Regions from separate parts of the Homo sapiens genome. Here region 2 is linked to region 1. The links are contacts of gene promoters, found by promoter capture Hi-C in blood cells and fetal thymus (Javierre and others, 2016). All regions are on one chromosome and are shown on one strand. The core of a region is centred on a gene start or on the middle of the fragment in contact, and the rest is flanking DNA. Distances in the headings are between cores, read along the strand shown.

The links. The method cuts DNA at HindIII sites, captures the fragments that hold promoters and counts their contacts. A CHiCAGO score of 5 or more calls a contact.
Region 2: a contact is called between a fragment that was not itself captured here and the fragment with the promoter of PIH1D2 in region 1, in 1 of 17 cell types (erythroblasts). The highest score is 5.1, in erythroblasts.

What each region holds. Positions count from the first base shown.
Region 1 is chr11:112,072,667-112,076,638 of GRCh38, reverse strand. It overlaps PIH1D2 (PIH1 domain containing 2), which reads left to right and starts at 2,622. Exons shown (of 6, transcript NM_138789.4): 1 at 2,622-2,659; 2 at 3,434-3,641. The coding sequence starts at 3,465. It overlaps NKAPD1 (NKAP domain containing 1), which reads right to left and starts at 2,340. Exons shown (of 6, transcript NM_018195.4): 1 at 1,723-2,340; 2 at 996-1,072. The coding sequence starts at 1,064. RefSeq lists enhancers at 1,848-1,897, 1,958-2,077, 2,488-2,537. The HindIII fragment of the contact is 10,336 bases long and covers 1,646-3,972 here.
Region 2 is chr11:111,959,864-111,964,031 of GRCh38, reverse strand. The region is part of intron 1 of DIXDC1 (DIX domain containing 1); the gene reads right to left. Among named protein-coding and RNA genes, the nearest start is that of DIXDC1, 25 kb to the right of the region's middle. The HindIII fragment of the contact is 199 bases long and covers 1,884-2,082 here.

The DNA.
Region 1 (3,972 bases), core at 1,373-3,872:
TTTACTATAAGAATACAGTATATAATACATGTAACATAAAAAATATGTGTTAATCCACTGTTTATGGTATCGCTATGGCTTTCAGTCAGTAGTAGGCTATTGGCACTTACATTTTGAGGGAGTAAAAAGTTATACATGGATTTTCGACTATGCAGGGGGTTGATGCCCCTAGCCCCTGCATTGTTCAAGGGTCAACTGAATTAGATTCCATTCTTATCATTATAATCTAATTAGCCACCAACTTCTTTGGATTCTATCTCCTAAATTCCTCTTCTTCATCCCTGCTGTCACTAATTTCATGCGAACCCTCATCATCTCTCACCTGTAATACTGCAATTGCCTCCTAATTACTCTCCCTTCTGTATCTCCCCATCTGATTCATTCCCTACCCAGCTGACAAACCATCTTTCTAAAATATAACTATGATCATGCCACACCCTGTTTAAAAACATTTGATGGCTTCTTTATTGCCTAGAGGAAGAAGTCTCAGCTCCAAACATCACAATCCAACTCTAATTACCACTGAGGCCTTATCTTCTGCCACTATCCCCTACCTTCCCTGCTTTCTGGATAAATTTCTTGCCATGCCCCAAGTGATTAATGCTCTTTCTCGTTGCCATATTAATGCATGATGCTGTCTATCCAGAATGATATTTCATACCTGGTAAACGTATACCTATTCAAGAACCAGTTCAAAGATCAGCAGCTGAAATACCACTAATTCTGTAAAATCTTTTCTAATTCCCCAGTGTAGATTTTATTATTTCCTCCTTAGTGCTCCAAAGCACTTTGCAAATATCTCTGTTATACAGTACTTATCAAACTGTATTATAATTATCTATTTTATTCATCATTTTATTTCCTACTGTGTACGGAAGCTTCCAAAAACTAGATGACAAGAATATTCTTTGTATCTCCCAGTTGTTCCAAAATAATGCTTGGCACACTGCTTGCCTTCAGTAAGCGTTGAGGAGTAACTAGGTTGTACCTCCCACCTTATTGTGAGCATCTGTGTGCCGGATGACATTCCTCAGGAGGACCTTCCCCAGTGGAATCCGGGACATTCTTCAATCTGAAATGAATCAACAAATAACGTTTAGTAATAATTTCTGTTATTACTTTATCTTTTCTTGAAGTTTTATAAAGAAGCATATGAGGTACAGGAAAGATCACTGAACTAGAAGTCAGAGATTCTAAAGAATAGTTTTCCCTTTACCATTAAAAGAGGGAAATGCCTAAACACACTAATGTGAGATGAAAGGAGATAATGTACATTAAAGTTCTTTGAAAATGCACAAGACTACATAAAATTAAGTGCTTTCATGAGCACCATTTTATTTAATCCTCATAACTACTTTTTATATGAGGCAAGTATCTCCATCCCTATTTTGTAGATGAAGTTCCCTTAAAGCTGTAACGTCCCAAGCCACATAGTCCCAGGCAAATGATGTATGTCACTGTCTAAATTAAAAATCAAACCTCCAATCCCAATATAGTTTGCACTGAAGCAAATACGTAGATTTGAGAGTGTCAGGAACCACGGGTGTCAACAGTAACAGAAACTGATTACTCAAAACATCAAATGCAAAGATGTCCTAAATTTCTCCATTTGGGGGCATTTTATTTCCTACTTGCTACGGAAGCTTCCAAAAACTAGATGACAAGAATATTTTCGTGTGTAGCTAGCAGGAGCTTTGTGCAACCACCCCAACGCTCACTCACCCCTTGATCCTGAGGAAATCAGGCATCTTGCTAGTGAGACGAAGAACCACTCCATTACAAGATCTCCTCCGACCCAGGAAGCCAAGGAGTCAGGGCTCAAAGGCAGCTCTGCAGCTTCACCCGAGTCCTTCGTGAAAACGCAGCCTTCCCACTGGTTACTCTGCCCTCACCTGTGGCCCAGGCCACTGCCGCGTTTCCCCCAGCCCAGACCGACAGGCAGATCTCTCTCCCGGACTGAGGCCGGAGGCTGAGCCGGGGCGGAATTCGGACAGCCCGGTTGACCTGGGCATTCCCCGCTCACGCTCCTCTAGGACGAACCCCGGGGGTAAGTTTCACTCCCCAGAAAGGCTGGGAACGCTTTGGATGGCTACGGCCTTCGGTTGGGCCCCAGAAAGTATCTAGGGAGCCTGAAGCGGGGGTTGAGGTTTCCAAGTGGAAGACAGAGGAAATATCCCCATCTTTGTCACCGGGATCCCTGTTCCCCAGCGGCCTCGGAGCTCCCGGTAACCTTCCCTCCAAACGCCCTCCCCACACAAATACACACAAACACACCCATACCGTGCGCCGCAGCCTCGCGTGGCGGGGGGTAGGGGGGAAGAAGTGGTTTGGGAGAAAAAGGAGGAGACTTCCTTTTCAGGCCGGAAGTCGTGCTCCTGAGAAATCGTCCCACCAACAGGCAGCCCAGAGACTCCCACAAGGGAGGGTTTTCAGGACACTCCAGAGGTTGACGGGTGCAGAAGGAAGGCGGGCGCTTTCCTGGAAGAGAAGTGGGTCAGGCCCAACTGAAAAGCAAGCCTGGCACCAGAAGGGGGACATTCCGGAACTAGATATGAAGAGACTTTTCTCCCTGAAGTTCCCCGGACCCAATTAGATGTTGTACCCAGGCTGGTTACCCTGGTAACAGGCGTCGCGGTTTGTCAAGGAACTGAGAGAAGAGGTGGGTTTGCCAACCTATAGAATGATTACCCGTTAGAACTGAGAGAAGAGGTGGGTTTGCAGACCTATGGAATGATTATCCGTTAGTTAAGTTTCCCGTTTAGCATAACCCTTACACAGTAATTGAAGAATCTAAACCTCTTTTCCTCATTCTAAAGATGCTGTGGGACACCTCTCCAATGGGAGAAGAGGCTAAGGAGATTTATCTGAAGACGTAGAGAAGTGTCCCAGCCTCTCTATTAGCTTACTTAATCTCGCAATAATCCTATGGTAGAGGTATTATCGTCTTCATTTTGAACAGAACATTAATTGCTCAAGGTCACAGAGCTAGTGAGAGATAGAACTAAGACCGGAATCTAGGCATTCTGGCTCACAAGTCCATGCTTTGAAATACTAAACTATACTGAGGATTAAGGAAGTCTTATGTGGCCCTCACCCCACACCACACCTCTGGCAATTTCAGAACTGGGGAGCCACCAGTCAGGTGTTGGAACAAGAAGATCAGGAAACCCAGACTTAAAATGATTACTCTGACTTGTCAGGGTCCAAATAGAAGTAAGGCCTTATCTGAGAGGACAATGTGAGAATTTAGGAAGAGGTACTAGATAATTAAAGAATAAGGAAAACATAAAGTGGTGCTGATCCACAACCTTTTAGACACAAATGCTGTCCTAACTTCACCAAAACAATTCCTGACCCATTCCACCTCCCCAAAGCAGAAATGAATCAATAATTACACAGACAGTTTTCTTCCTGAAGTCGTGTTTTTCCACAGGCTTAAGAAAATTATTCACCACTCATAAGTCATGGAGACATCCTCAAAAGGTCTGCTTACCCAAGTTACTCAGTTTTGGAACCTCCTAGATGATCTAGCTCAGAGTGACCCTGAGGGCTATGAGAAGTTTATTCAGCAGCAGCTGAAAGAAGGGAAACAGCTCTGTGCTGCCCCAGAACCACAGCTTTGTCTACAGACCAGGATTCTGGTATGTCGAGTTGGTGCCAGGGATGGGGAGGTCTTGAATGAAATGATCCCAGAATAACCAGAGAATACTTTACACTTAGGTATTGCTAATTTTTTTTGTTTTTTTTTTGTTTTGTTTTGTTTTGTTTTGTTTTTTGAGACAGAGTCTTACTTTGTCACCAGGCTGGAGTGCAATGGTGTGGTCTTGGCTCGCTGCAACCTCTGCCTCCCGGGTTTAAGCGATTCTCCTGCCTCAGCCTCCCAAGTAGCTGGGATTACAGGTGTGTACTACCATGCCCGGCTAATTTTTGTATTATTAGTAGAGGCGGGGTTTCACCATGTTGGCCAGGCTG
Region 2 (4,168 bases), core at 734-3,233, 110 kb after region 1:
TGAGACTTAAGTGAAATCATCTCACAGTCAACCCAAGATTTATTCTCCTGAGCCAATAATCCTAGGATTGCTACAGAGTTAGTTTTAATCCATGCTTTATATTGTCAAAGAGGATCTGGTTACCGAAAATCTACACAAAGAAGGAAAAAGAAAGGCTATAGTGAGCAATGTTACTGAAGACTAAGAGGCATTTTCATTTACTTTTAGACAAAGCTAGGGCCCAGTATTATCAGAAACTGGTCAGGCATCTACGTAGGGACATACAACTCATTCCAACCCTTGGAAACCTTACATATTACATTTTGTCCATTAAACAGAACTGGTATTCAGATGTTTATGCTGATTATTTGGTCAAAAGATGGGCACTAATATCAAAATATCACACAAACAATGTCACTCTCCAAGTAGCAGCTCTGACTGGTTTCTTTGCAGCCCAGGACCCTGAGCCTAAAATTTAAGTTCAAGGGCTAATTGTATTAATTTATAATTTGGTTAAAATACAGTTGATTCCTAAGCCCCAAGTACTTCCTTAATGAAACAATGTTGGAAATTACTCACTGGCTGCTTCCTGAACATAAATTAAATCGTCATTATTTTCTCTCTTTGTCAATTTGTGAGAATAAATAACATCGTTTGGAAGACAGTGCTAAGACAACAATCCATCAGCCACTGACAAACTGTAGGAAGTGCAACGATCAGGAGGAGGTGGGAGGAGGAATCTAATATTTATTGAGCACCTATCATGAACTAAACCAATTTTTGGTGTTTGACCCATGTTTTAATTAGTGAAGGTACCTGGGCCAGGGCCTGACATAAAATTGACGCTTACTAAATGTACTAAATGACATTATTTTTGTCATCGTCATCCAATTCAATTCTCAGAAAAACACTAGAGTTAGCATTATCTCCATTTTATGGATGAGGTTCAGAGAGGTTATGTAACTTCTCTAATGTCCCCATAGCTAGGACATAGCAGACATGGTATTAAAACCCAGTAATGTTGTCCATGCATTTACCAAGGGTCTCTTGCTATCCAACTTACTCCACAGAACAGAAATGGCTGCACCTTCTGCCTCACGTGGGCCAGACACCCATCACCAGGGACCAGATGAGATCTGTGATGCTCCAAGGTCTGCTCCCATTGTGCAGTCAGAAGCAGACCAGGCAAAGGGCACCTCTAGAGTGAACCACTCTGGTCTGAGGGAAAGCAGTTAAGCCCAGAAAGAACACTAAGGTGACTGGTGGGATCTGATTACCTGGCTTTTATATAAAACTCCTAACCAATTTCCCTGTATCTATTATCATCCTCAACCCACCCTCCACACATTCCTGCTTAAAATCTGTTACTTGTCTCCAATTATCCTCAAAGATAAAATCCAATTGCCATTTAAGCTCGTCACGTGCTAGCCTTCACCTGTTCTCCAGCTTCACCCCCATTCCCCAAATACCCACCATGCTTCAGCTCATCTGAATTATGTACAGTTCCCCAAATGCACCATGCTTTCCAGCCGCTCCACCTCCTTCTAACTCCTGCCTCTTTTTTTTTCTTGGAGATGGAGTCTTGCTCTGTCGCCCAGGCTGGAGTGCAGTGGCATGATCTCAGCTCATTGCAACCTCCGCCTTCCAGGTTCAAGCAATTCTCTCGTCTCAGCCTCCCAAGTAGCTGGGACTACGGGTGCCTGCCACCACGCCGGGCTAATTTTTGTATTTGTAATAGAGATGGGGTTTCACCATATTGGTCAGGCTGGTCTTGAACTCCTGACCTCAGGTGATCCACCCACCTAGGCCTCCCAAAGTGCTGGGATTACAGATATGAGCCACCGCACCCGGCCAACCTGCCTCTTCTTAAGTCTCAGCTCAAGTATCACTTTTTTCAGAAAGCTTTCCCTGACCTCTCAGATACCACAGACTCTGATCTCCCTGAGGGCTTCCTATGTCACACAATCAGTTCAACAATAATTTGAGGCACTGTACCCAGTTATGAGGCTACAACAAGCCCCAGCTTGCAGGCTGGTAGAAACAAAGCTATGACGGGGTACATAGGGTGCTAACAGAGTATTAGCCCAACCTGAACCCCAAGCTTCAGAGGGTCTCCTGAAGGAGGAAAAGAAGCAAAGAGGACAGTGAGCTCAAAGGAGCTAAGGCCTGAAATATGCTTTATGTGGAGAGTCACAATAGTTCAGAATTATTTGACTCTTAGAGTAGCAGGTGCTCAACAAATATTTGTTTGAATCAGTTAATCATTTGTCACATTTTATCAGGCCAATAACTAAGATGACTGCAAAAGTTAATTGCGGGGGGACAAACAAGAACAAGTATTTTTCTTGAGGTCAAGATAATTTCTACTTAAGTAACCTTAGCTTTTTCTTGCCCGTAGAAGTTGTCTCTGATGCAAAACTGATTAGTACTGTTGAGTACTTTTCATGCACATTACTCACAGTCTGGTCTTCCAACAAAAGAGGATTCCACAGCATAAACAGTAATAGTCACTTTTCAGAACACCTACTTTGTATCAAGAGCTATGCTAGGTTCTTTAAACACATTTTATCTAATGCTAATCTGGCAGGGAGATGTTTTTGTATTTATTTTCCTCATTGAAAACAGAGACACAAAACGGTGAAATAACTTGTTCATGGTTACCCAAACAGTAAATCATGAATATGGAATCCAGATATGACTCCCAAGCCAATGCTCTTTCCACTCTACCACACTGCTGCCTAAATAAATGCACTGCTGAGGCTTAAATGACTTCCCTAAAACTTTCAGGATGTACCTGAGTCAAACCACTCCCTCCACCACATCCAATCCATGAATCTCTTGTGTAATAAACTATACTAAGCGGCTGTCTACTAAAGTGTGCTTCCCAGATCAGTAGCATCGGCAACACCTGGGAGCCTCCTGCAAACTCCTGGGCTCCTCCCCAGCCTACTGAATCAGAGCCTATATCTTAACAAGCTCTCCTGGTGATTCATATGCACATGAAAGCATGAGAAGCACTGACCCAGCCCGCTGTTGCCATACCTGGCTGCACGTCAAGGTCACAAGGGAAGTTTTTCATAAGCAGACGTCATCCTAAATCTACCAGTTGTCTCCAGAGGGTAGGAACTCAGAAAGATTTATCTTCCCAAGCTTTCCCATATGATTCTTGTAAAGCTGATTTGAGTCTTTTCCCAGCGAAACAGTCCAGTTCCCTTAACCAAGGGGTTCCCAGCCCCCTTGGTTAACAACCAGAATCACCTGGAAAGCTTTTCAAAAAATACTAATGTCTAGGCCCACCATAGAGCAGTCAGAATTTCTGAGAGTGGGACCAAGGTATATCAGTATTCCTCAAGTGCTCCTAGTAACATGCAGAGATGTGAGCCAAGGTTAACTATTCCTTACATAAAATAGTTAAAAGTATTACTGTTTTTCTTTTTCTTTTCTTTTTTTTTTTTTTTAAGACAGAGTTTCACTCTTGTCTCCCAGGCTGGAGTGCAGTGGCATGATCTCGGCTCACTGCAACCTCCGCCTCCCGGGTTCAAGCAATTCTCCTGCCTCAGCCTCCCGAGAAGCTGGGATTACAGGCGCCAGCCACCATGCCCACCTAATTTCTGTATTTTTAGTAGAGATGGGGTTTCACCATGTTAGCCAGGCTGGTCTCGAACTCCTGACTTTGTGAACCACCCACCTCGGCCTCCCAAAGTGCTGGGATTACAGGCGTGAGCCACTGCGCCCGGCCAAAATTGTTACTGCTTTTCTAAATCTGAATCCATGACACCTAGAACCTGATGCTCCCTAGACGTAATGAAGACATACAGCTTCTTTATTCAAAATGCTGTATTTCGCCGGGCACAGTGGCTCATGCCTGTAATCCCAGTACTTTGGGAGGCCAAGGTGGGCGGATCACTTGAGGTCAGGAGTTCAATACCAGCCTGGCCAACATGGTGAAACCCTGTCTCTACTAAAAATACAAAAATTAGCCGGGTGTGGTGGTGTACACTTGTAATCCCAGATACTTGGGAGGCTGAGGCAGGAGAATCACTTGAGCCTGGGAGGTGGAGGTTGCAGTGAGTCGAGATTGCGCCAGTGCACTCCAGCCTGGGCGACAGAATGAGACTCCATCTCAAAAACAAACAAAAACAAAATGCTGTATTTCTCTTTCTCCTCTTTCCTTCCTTCTTTGGCCAAT